Linked DNA regions of Homo sapiens: all the other regions are linked to region 2. The links are contacts of gene promoters, found by promoter capture Hi-C in blood cells and fetal thymus (Javierre and others, 2016). All regions are on one chromosome and are shown on one strand. Each heading gives the region's core, a stretch centred on a gene start or on the middle of the fragment in contact. The rest is flanking DNA. Distances are from core to core; before and after follow the strand shown. Region 1 holds the start of GLOD5 (glyoxalase domain containing 5). Region 2 holds the start of TFE3 (transcription factor binding to IGHM enhancer 3). Region 3 overlaps LOC124905186 (a long non-coding RNA gene). Region 4 holds the start of WAS (WASP actin nucleation promoting factor).

Region 1 (2,700 bases), core at 151-2,650, 280 kb before region 2:
GCTACCCAGGAGGCTGAGGCAGGAGGATCCCTTGAGCCCAGGAGTTTGAGGCTGCACTGAGCCATCATGGCGCCAGTGGGCTCCAGCATGGGTGACAAAGTGAGACACTGTCTCAAAAAAAAACAAAAACAAAACAATATCCACAACACAAAGTGTTTGTGTTGGGGGTAACTAGAAACAAAAATCTCAAACTCACATGCTCCAGGGGCCAGACAAGTAACCTGTAAGGGAGATGGGGGAGTTCTGCTCAGGGTAAAGTGAACAGCAACTGGGCTGATGAATGTTCTCTGACTCTCAGCAGCGGAAGGTGAGGGTGAGTGAAGGGTGAGTGGGGAGGAGGAGGAAGACTGCAAATCTCATCCCCCAAAACTCATCCCCCAAAATAATTCAGGAACATCACACCCTGGGGCTCAGAACTTTTTTTTTTTTAAACAGAGTCTCACTCTGTCACCCAGGCTGGAGTGCAATGGCGCGATCTCGGCTCACTGCAACCTCCGCCTCCCGGGTTCAAACTATTCTCCTGCCTCAGGCTCCTGAATAGCTGGGACTACAGGTGCACACCACCATGCCTGGGTAATTTTTGTATTTTTAGTAGAGATGGAGCTTTACCATGTTGGCCAGGCTGGTCTCGAACTCCCAGCCTCAAGTAATCCGTCCACCTTGGCCTCCCAAAGTGCTGGGATTACAGGCGTGAGCCACCGTGCTTGACCAAGGGGCTCAGAACTCTTAAGAGTTCAGGGATCTTGGCTTGGAAACAGACACCTAATGGGTCAGAGCAGTCATACTCTAACTCAGATAGCTCACAACTTCATACCCCTGACACACACTCTCAAACAGCTCACAGATCTCACACTTTGGAGACATACCCCTAAGTAGACCAGAGGCATCACACGCTAGAATAAAGATCCCCTTAATACTTGGTGGTTTTTCAGTATTATTATTATTGAGATGGAGTCTTGCTCTGTCACCCAGGCTGAAATGCAATGGCGCCATCTCGGCTCACTGCAACCTCCGCCTCCCGGATTCACGCGATTCTCCTGCCTCAGCCTCCCAAGTAGCTGGGATTACAGGCGCCCGCCACCATGCCTGGCTAATGTTTTGTATTTTTAGTAAAGATAGGGTTTTGCCATGTTGTCCAGGCTGGTCTCGAAATCCTGATCTCAGGTGATCCACGTGCCTTGTCCTCCCAAAGTGCTGGGATTACAGGCATGAACCACCGCACCCAGCCTTCAGTGTTAACAAGAAGTAATCCCTTACACACATCCACTTTAAGCTTTCAATTTTGAGGCCCTGAATTTAATGTTAAAGTCCTTCCATTTGCACTACCTACCTGTGTCACCTCCCACAGTCCTCAGCCTGTGCCCTCCCATTCCTGCCCCTTGATCTCCAGGCGCTGAGCCAGAGGATTGTCGGGAGGACCCTGGGCAAAGACGCCTACCCTGCCATGCTGCGCCATCTGCCCTCCAGGCTGCCAGTCAAGATGTGGGGCAGGACTTTGGAGAAACAGGTGAACAAGATGGCCCCTGGGGATCTGGGGCAAGGGTGTTGGCACTGAAACTGGTCTAGTAACCTGTTTCCCTTCTCTGCGGGCTCCCATTTCCTGTCCTCCTCTCTCCCTTTCTCTTTCAGAGACAAGCAGAGGGCAGCAGAGGCCCATGGAAAGGCCCGGCTCTAAGCCATGGAGGGCCCTGTGCTCAGGTGTGCAGGGCTGGGCCGGGGCTGAGGGCTGGCTCCTCCCCCAGTTTAGCCAGGGACAGGTGGAGAGATACAAAGGTGGCTCACGCAGGGTGCCCCCAAAGCTGTCATGATTAAGGCCATGTGGAGAGAGGCTAGGAAACACAGCGCTGACCTTGAGCTTTAGGAGAGGAATTCAGAGGCCCCTGGCAACCTGAAGGGGACCTTGAAGAGGACCCTGTAGGAAGACAGAACACTTCCCTGTAGAGGAGGCCAAAGGAGGAAGGACATGGTGTTCCGGGCACTCTGACTATAGGGATTTTATATGCTGTGGTGAGAAATAAAATGGATTATATTTTTGTAGAGTGTGTAAAACGGGGCTTGGCACACAGTAAGCCTTGTGTGATTACTATGTCTTTTTTTTTTTTTTTTTTTGAGACCGAGGTTTGCTCTTGTCGCCCAGGGTGGAGTGCAGTGGTGCAATCTCAGGTCACTGCAACCTCTGCCTCCCAGGTTCAAGCGATTCTCCTGCCTCAGCCTCCCGAGTAGGGGATTACAGGTGCACGTCACCATGCCCAGCTAATTTTTGTATTTTTAATAGAGACAGGATTTCACCATGTAGGCCAGGCTGGTCTCAAACTCCTGACCTCATGTAATCCACCCACCTTGGCCTCCCAAAGTGCTAGGATTACAGACGTGAGCCACTGCACCCAGTCCTTTGTGTGATGACTATGTCTTGATCATCATTTTATAAAGCAGGCTTTGTAACTTCACCTCCAAGAGTCTGCAGGATCCAGACCCTGCCTTGCCCTCCCACTTATCTCTCACTCACTCTTGGGTTCTGAGCTACGCTGGCCTTCCTGTTATTGAAGACAGCCATCCCTGCTCGTCCTTGAATTTGCAAGGATGGAGCTCCGAGTCTGCAAAGCAGGATCTGGGGAGTGAATCTAAGCTGGCAGGGAAGAATAGAATAATGGGAGGAATAGGTGGAGTTTATTTCTAACAGACTATCAAAATGATGCAGAT
Region 2 (2,700 bases), core at 192-2,691:
TCACCCTCAGATGGAGCCCTAAAACCACCCAGGAAGTTGGGAAGAGGAAGCTCGGGCGAGCCACTGAGCTCAGCACAATCCCAGGCACAAAGGAGGCAAAGACCCCCCCCCACCCAGGGCTCACACACCCATTGCACAGAAGTTGGAAGAGATGGGCACTGGGGTGAGCAGGGAGGGCTGGGGCTCCAAAGCCCATTGATGAAAGTAAGGATGAGAAGAGGCCAGAGGGGATCCACCCAGGCAGGGATGGTGCAATCTGTACTCGTTCCAGCTCTATGGACAGATTCAAGATTACCCCCAGGAGCTCGGAGATCGAAAAGAAGATAAAAAGAAAAGGGGTGTGGGGCTAGGGAGTGGGAAGGGCTGAGAGGCTAGAGCGAGTAGCAGCATGAACAAGAGCCTCCTCTGGGTTCCCAAACAAGGTCTGAGGCCTCTGAGCTAAGAGGTAACATCATCGCCCTCTGCCTGGCTGTCTATCTTCCATTCAGGCCCTTAACAGGTGTGGGAAGAGGGCTTTTCCACTATCCTTGGGATCTGCCCCAGCTGGGTAGGCGGGCAGAGGGGAAAGGATTATTCTGGTCAAGTCTTGCTGAATGTTGCTTCTCTTGTTCATTCACACGCACTCACAAGGCTGGTCCCAGGCAGCATATCTGAGATACCTCCAAATCCCTCCAGATTCATGTTATCCCCAAACACAGCAACCAGTCACTGAGAGGCACCAAGCTCCCAAGACAGCACTTCTGTCCCTCAGGACCCCTTCTCCCACACTGAGGGAAAAAAGATTCTAGGATTCCCTTAAAACCAGTGCCTCACCTGACAGTGTCCCCTCAAATTCATTCCCCTCATGTCCGACTGAAAATCCCCGAATTCAGCCTCTAATCAGAGACCCTGTCTACCAAGTTCAGCTATCTCAGACCAGTTTCTGGATACTCCAGAATAGGCCCCTCTAGACGCAGTCAAGGGCTCCCCAAACCTGACCCAGACCCCGCTTAATGCACTCCCACGACTCCTTTAATAAAGCCACAATCCAAGCAGGCCACTGCCGGATTCCTTAGGTGCCCCCCCAAGACGGGCGCCCCGACGTCCTCCAAGGCTAGGCCGAGGGCCTCCAATCCCAGTCCGGGGCCCCCACTGCCCCCGAGATCAGGCCCCTGGGAGCCCCAGTCGGCACTCCCAGCCCCAGGCGGCCCCGCACCTGAGCAGCTGAGCCGAGTCGGCCGGCCTGCGCTCCTCCAACAGCACGAACACGGCTCGAGGGCCCTCCGCGCTGGCCTCTACGCCATCCCGAGCTGGTTCGGCCGCATGAGACATGACGCCCGGCCCCGGGCGAGCCCTGCCAGGCCGGTCGGGCCTCGGCCCGGTCCCCCTAACAAAATAAGAGTCCCCCCTCCCCCCAGCTCGCCACCGCCGCCTCCTCCGCTAAGCCATGGAGCTAGCACTGCGCGGGCGGGCGGCGTCGGGGAGATGGGATGGGCTGTGAGTCATCCCCCGCCCAGAACGGACCGACGCCCCCCCTCAACCTAACCCCGGACGACCGCCCTCCTCCCCCTCGTCTTCTTCCCCCTCCTCCCTCCTCCCAGGGATGGGGAAACTCCACAGGAAGTGACCGCACTGGGGATGGATGGCCCGTCTGGCCACGACCCATTAGCGAGGCGGCCAATCGCTGAACGGCGATTCGAGGGCCCACCCTAAGCGACGCCTCCGACGCGGAGGAAAAACGCGATTCGGCCCGCCCTCATTCCGAGAAGCAGCACCCAGACCACGCCCTCAGGGGCAGCGACAAATAGGCGAGGGTTGATTTGGTTGAACCACGCCTCTATGTTTGCGTCGCTTTCGGAGCCACGCCCTCTCTTCTCAAATTATCCCTCTGCAAGGTAATATTAAGCCGCTCCTTGGGTCCTCTGCGCCTGCGCATCGATGGCCAGTCGGCGCACGGAGGGTCTCCTGGCCAAGCTTTTAGCTGCGGAACCGCGCCCTCTTTCGGCCAATATTTGTAATATCTGAGCCCTAGACCGCGCTCCAACCTCGATCTGGCTGTGCTCTCTCAGCCAAAGCCATAACTATGAGGCAGAGGCAGCTACATTCCCTGAAGGTGCGGGCCAGAAACCCCCCCCTTTCGCTGTCCGCAGTCCAGCCGCCCAGCTGGTCTTCCGGGAGTATTCCGCCTGTTCCATGCCATCGAGAGCGGTTGTACTATGTTCATTGCGCTGCGCAATATGTGCTTAATAAATTCTTGACGGGTGAATGAATCTGGTCCCTTCGGTGAATGACGACTTCTGGAATCACAAAGATCCAGGTTTGAATAGGGAAGGGGACCTCCCCTCTCCCAGCCTCAGCTTTCCTGGCCTGTTAAATGGGGGTCAAAATACCTGTCTGGCAGGGTTGTTCTGAGGATTAAAGATAATGTATGAAAAGTGCTAGCAGGTTGTTTGGCATACAAGAAGCTTCCCAAAATTAGTTGATTCACTCATTTGTTCACTTATTCAACATTCACTGAGCGCTTCTGTATGCCAGACGCATGCAAGCCGGCTCGCACAAGGCGGAGGGTCTCACTCATATATCCTCAGGTGCAAATAGCTCACAAAACACCCAGACCTACAGCCTTCCCTTCCTCTTTCCTGACATCCCAAGACCCCACCCTGAGTTGCGCCTCCAGGAATTTCACCGGGCTTTCATTTACCTTGGACCTTCCTGTATTGG
Region 3 (2,700 bases), core at 91-2,590, 390 kb before region 2:
CACTATCACCACCCCTAACCAGAGCTGTACAGTTGTTGCAATTGATGAACCTGCAATTGACGCATCATCATCACCCAAAGTCCATAGTTTACATTATGACTCACTCGTGTTGTATATTTTATGGGTTTTGACAAAGATACAAGGACACATATCCATCATTGCAGTATCATGCAGAGTAGTTTCACTGCCCTAAAAATCCTCTGTGCTCCACTTATTCATCTCTCCTTCCCCTCAACTCCTGTAAACCACTAATCTTTTTACTGCCTCCTTAGTTTTGCCTTTTCCGGAATGTCATATAGTTGGAATCATACAGTATGTAGCCTTTTCAGATTGGCTTCTTTCACTTAGTATATCAGTCTGTTCTCATGCTGCTTATAAAGACATACCCAAGACTGGGTAATTTATAAAGAGGTTTAACGGAGTCACAGTTCCACGTGGCTGGGGAGGCCTCACAATAATGGTGGAAGGTAAAAGGCATGTTTTACATGGTGGCAGATAAAAGAGAATGTGGACCAAGCAAAAGGGTTTTCCCCTTATGAAACCATCAGATTTTGTGAGACTTATTCACTACCATGAGAACAATATGAGGGAAACTGCCCCCCATGATTCAGTTATCTCCCACTGGGTCTCTCCCACAACGCGTGGGAATTATGGGAGCTATAATTCAAGATGAGATTTGGGTGGGGACACAGCCAAACCTATCACTTAGTAATATGCATTTAAGTTTCCTCCATTTTTTTTTTTTTTTCTGAGACAGAGTCTCGCTCTGTCACCCAGGCTGGAGTGCAGTGGCGCGATCTCGGCTCTCTGCAACCTCCGCCTCCCGGGTTCAAGTGATTCTCCTGCCTCAGCTTCCTGAGTAGCTGGGATTACAGGCGTGTGCCACCACGCCCAGCTCATTTTTAGTAGAGATGGGGTTTCACCATGTTGGCCAGGCTGGTCTCAAACTCCTGACCTCAAGTGATCCACCTGCCTCCGCTTCCCAAAGTGCTAGGATTACAGGCATGAGCCACCGCGCCTGGCCTCTTCCATGTCTTTTTATGGCTTGGTAGCTCAGTTCTTTTTCTCACTGCATAATATTCCACTATCTGGATGTACCAGTTTATTTATCCACTCACCTACCAAAGGACATTTTGGTTGCTTCCATGTTTTTGCAATTATGAATAAAGCTGCTATAAACATTCCTGTGTGTAGATTTACGTGGGGACATAAGTTTTCAAGTCATTTGGGTAAATATCAAGGAATGCAATTACTGGATGGTATAGTAAGAGTATGTTTAGTTTTGTAAGAAGCCGCCAAACTGTCTTCCAAAGTGGCTGTGCCATTTTGCATTCTCATGAATGAGAGTTTCTGTTGCTCCACATCCTCGACAGCATTTGGTGTTGTCAGTGTGTTGTTTTCACCATTCTAATAGGTGTGTAGTGGCATCTCACTGTTGTTTTATTTTATTTTTTATTTTTTTAATTTTGAGACAGGGTTTCACTCTCGTTGCCCAGGCTGGAGTGCAATGGCGCGATCTTGACTCACCGCAACTTCCGCCTCCCAGGTTCAAGCAATTCTCCTGCCTCAGCCTCCCTAGTAGCTGGGATTACAGGCATGTGCCACCACGCCCAGCTAATTTTGTATTTTTAGTAGAGACGGGGTTTCTCCATGTTGGTCAGGCTGGTCTTGAACTCCTGACCTCAGGTGATCCGCCCGCCTTGGTCTCCCAAAGTGCTGGGATGACAGGCATGAGCCACTGCGCCCAGCCTAACTGTTGTTTTAATTTGCAAGTCTCTAATGACATATGATGTTGGGCATCTTCATATGCTTATTTGCCATCTGTCCACCTTCTTTGGTGAGGTGTCTATTCAGGTCTTTTGCCCATTTTTTAATCAGGTTGTTCATTTTCTTACCGTTGAGTTTTAAGAGCTCTTTGCAATTTTGGATAATAGTCATTTATCAGACACCTCTTTTGCAAATATTGTGGCTTGTCATTTCATTCACGTTTGTGGGGAGGGGGGAACGGAGTCTCACTCTGTCACCCAGGCTGGAGTGCAGTGGTGCAATCTCGGCTCACTGCAACCTCTGCCTCCTGGGTTCAAGCAATTCTCCTGCCTCAACCTCCAAGTAGCTGGGATTACAGGTGCACACTACCACACCTGGCTATCATCTCATTCTCTTGATCATCCTTTTTTCTTAAATTAAAAAGTGAGCAATTTCTTTGCAGTCAGAACAACATTTCTGTTGGCAGTGTGTGGTGGTAAAGAGGGGGACTCTGGAGTTAGCTTGGATTTGAATTCCAGTTCTGCCACTTATTAGCTGTGCCAGTTACTGAATGTCTCTGTGCTGCACTTTCCTCATCTTTAAAATGGGTATATGAGCTGGGCGTGGTGGCTCATGCCTGTAATCCCAGCACTCTGAGAGGCAGAGGTGGGTGGATTGCTTGAGGTCAGGAGTTCAAGACCAGCCTGGGCAACACGGCAAAATCCCGTCTCTACAAAAAATACAAAAATTAGCTGAGTGTGGTGGTGCACACCTGTAGTCTCAGCTACTTGGGGGACTGAGGTGGGAAGATCGCTTGGGCCCAGGAGGAGGAGGCTGCAGTGAGTGGAGATCGTGCCATTGCACTCCAGCCTGGGCGAGAGAGTGAGACTCTGTCTCCAAATTAAATAAAACAAGATGGAGATAAACCCGTACTCATAGGGTTGCTGTGAAAAT
Region 4 (2,700 bases), core at 8-2,507, 360 kb before region 2:
ATGAAAACTAAACAAGATGTTGTTCAGGCATTCATATATGATATAAAGTTCCTTTCTTTAAAAAAGGGATGGGCTGGGCACGGTGGCTCACGCCTGTAATTCTAATACTTTGGGAGGCCGAGGCAGGTGGATCACGAGGTCGAGAAATCGAGACCATCCTGGCCAACATGGTGAAACCCTGTCTCTACTAAAAATACAAAAAAATTAGCTGGGCGTGGTGGCGTGTGCCTGTAGTCCCAGCTACTTGGGAGGCTGAGGCAGGAGAGTCACTTGAACCCGGGAGGCAAAGGTTGCAGTGAGCCGAGATCGTGCCACCGCACTCCAGCCTGGCGACAGAGTGAGACTCCATCTCAAAAAAAAAAAGAAAAAAAAAAGTATGACAAGCAGAAAGTAATTTGGGAGCTGCGGGGAGGCAAGGGTAAGGGATGGGGAAGTGGACCAGAGGCATATGCGTCATTGGCAGTGTCTAAGCACTCACGATAGGCGTGGATCACAGGGGCTCGCTCTGTAATTAAAAGGAAAAGGGTTTTTGTTGTGTTGTTGTTGTTGCTGTTTTTGAGACAAGGGTCTTGCTCTGTCATCATCCAGGCTGGAGTGCAGTGGTGCAGTCTCAGCTCACTGCAACCTCCGCCTCCTGGGTTCAAGCGATTCTCCTGCCTCAGCCTCCTGAGCAGCTAGGACTACAGGTGTGTGCCACCATGCCTGGCTAATTTTTGTATTTTTTAGTGGAAATGGGGTTTTGCCATGTTGCCCAGGCTCGTCTTGAACTCCTGACCTCAAGTGATCCACTCGTCTCGGCCTCCCAAAGTGCTGGGATTACAGGTGTGAGCTATTGTCCCCAGCCAAAAGGAAAAGTTTTACTGTAGTAACCCTTCCGGACTAGGGACCTCGGGCCTCAGCCTCAGGCTACCTAGGTGCTTTAGAAAGGAGGCCACCCAGGCCCATGACTACTCCTTGCCACAGGGAGCCCTGCACACAGATGTGCTAAGCTCTCGCTGCCAGCCAGAGGGAGGAGGGTCTGAGCCAGTCAGAAGGAGATGGGCCCCAGAGAGTAAGAAAGGGGGAGGAGGACCCAAGCTGATCCAAAAGGTGGGTCTAAGCAGTCAAGTGGAGGAGGGTTCCAATCTGATGGCGGAGGGCCCAAGCTCAGCCTAACGAGGAGGCCAGGCCCACCAAGGGGCCCCTGGAGGACTTGTTTCCCTTGTCCCTTGTGGTTTTTTGCATTTCCTGTTCCCTTGCTGCTCATTGCGGAAGTTCCTCTTCTTACCCTGCACCCAGAGCCTCGCCAGAGAAGACAAGGGCAGAAAGCACCATGAGTGGGGGCCCAATGGGAGGAAGGCCCGGGGGCCGAGGAGCACCAGCGGTTCAGCAGAACATACCCTCCACCCTCCTCCAGGACCACGAGAACCAGCGACTCTTTGAGATGCTTGGACGAAAATGCTTGGTGAGCTGGGGATCTCCTGCCCCCGCCCCGTCCCCACCGTTTCTTCCTCTTCCTCTCCTCCTTCTCTCTCTTCCCCTCCTCCCGCTCCTCCTTTCCCTCTCCATCATCTCCTCTCCTAGAATTTCCCGTCATAATCCACCCTTCCCAGGAAGATCTCAATGTCTACTTGCCTTCCCTCTGGCTGCAGCTCTTCCTTTGGGCCCATGACTGTCATGAGGCAGGAAGGACCAGGTCTGGCTCCAAGACCTTGTGGCTACCCCTGACCAGACTCCACTGACCCCTGCTTTCCTCTCCCAGACGCTGGCCACTGCAGTTGTTCAGCTGTACCTGGCGCTGCCCCCTGGAGCTGAGCACTGGACCAAGGAGCATTGTGGGGCTGTGTGCTTCGTGAAGGATAACCCCCAGAAGTCCTACTTCATCCGCCTTTACGGCCTTCAGGTGACCCCCCCACCCCCGACTGGACTTGCAAGCCAGTTCTCAACCCGCAAACCCAGATCTGTGTCCATATGTGTCCATAGCTTCAAGACCTCAGACCTGATCAGTGAATCCCTGAGCCCCAGAACCAAAGACTCATCCAGATGGCAAACTCTGACTTGCCTTTCTAAGTCTGCAATGACTGGCCCCAGTCTCCGTATCAAGATCTCTAAAGCCCCCAGTATTAGTCTGCTGCCTAAGCCTAATCTTTTCCACAAATTCCAATAAATGAGCACTGTATTTGTACCTGAACCTCAAATCTATTCTAAACTCAACATTTTGCATCCCAGGAATCTCTCATCAAAACTCCTGAACCCCAGATGTTTGCCAAGCTCCTAAGTCATAAATCTGTTCAACAAACCCCAAAGTTGAATATTCCATTGATCCTTGAACTCCAAATCTGTCCTTCTAAATCCACAGCACAGACCCCAGAGTTCCCATATTAAAATTCCTGAACACTCAAATACCGAGGTAGTTCTTAAGCAAAAAGTCTTTTCCACAATCCCCTGACCTGAACTTTCTAGGTTTAAGCCCCAAATTCATCCTTTTAAACCCATAAAGATGGACCCAGCATAACTTCCAGATCCCAAGGCTATCAAATATCCACCAAACTCCTAAACCATAACTCTCTCCACAAACCCCAAATTGCACTTACTTTAGCTGGACTCCCCGCGAAACTCCCAAGTCTATGTGTCTGAACTTCAAATCTCAACTCCAACCCCCAAATACTAGAATCCTACCTGTCATGAATTGGGGCTGGGGTGGTGGGGGAGGGCATGGAT

Evidence for each region. Contacts are between HindIII fragments. The CHiCAGO score rates a contact against its expected background, and 5 or more counts as called.
Region 1: a contact is called between the fragment with the promoter of GLOD5 here and the fragment with the promoter of TFE3 in region 2, in 2 of 17 cell types (megakaryocytes and activated CD4 T cells). The highest score is 6.1, in megakaryocytes.
Region 3: a contact is called between a fragment that was not itself captured here and the fragment with the promoter of TFE3 in region 2, in 3 of 17 cell types (total B cells, naive B cells and naive CD8 T cells). The highest score is 6.4, in total B cells.
Region 4: the fragment with the promoter of WAS here is called in contact with the fragment with the promoter of TFE3 in region 2 in 1 of 17 cell types (M0 macrophages); the score reaches 5.1 in M0 macrophages.

The regions. Positions count from the first base shown.
Region 1 is chrX:48,760,347-48,763,046 of GRCh38, forward strand. It overlaps GLOD5 (glyoxalase domain containing 5), which reads left to right and starts at 1,401. Exons shown (of 4, transcript NM_001080489.3): 1 at 1,401-1,507. The coding sequence starts at 1,445. RefSeq lists a cis regulatory region at 1,153-1,895. The HindIII fragment of the contact is 2,551 bases long and covers 1,272-2,700 here.
Region 2 is chrX:49,041,916-49,044,615 of GRCh38, forward strand. It overlaps TFE3 (transcription factor binding to IGHM enhancer 3), which reads right to left and starts at 1,442. Exons shown (of 10, transcript NM_006521.6): 1 at 1,196-1,442. The coding sequence starts at 1,311. RefSeq lists an enhancer at 768-1,631 and a silencer at 1,173-1,412. The HindIII fragment of the contact is 3,845 bases long and covers 1-1,951 here.
Region 3 is chrX:48,649,215-48,651,914 of GRCh38, forward strand. All of the region lies in intron 1 of LOC124905186 (a long non-coding RNA gene), which reads left to right. Among named protein-coding and RNA genes, the nearest start is that of WAS, 33 kb to the right of the region's middle. The HindIII fragment of the contact is 7,789 bases long and covers 1-2,700 here.
Region 4 is chrX:48,682,542-48,685,241 of GRCh38, forward strand. WAS (WASP actin nucleation promoting factor) reads left to right here and starts at 1,258. Exons shown (of 12, transcript NM_000377.3): 1 at 1,258-1,444; 2 at 1,742-1,882. The coding sequence starts at 1,313. The HindIII fragment of the contact is 18,512 bases long and covers 1-2,700 here.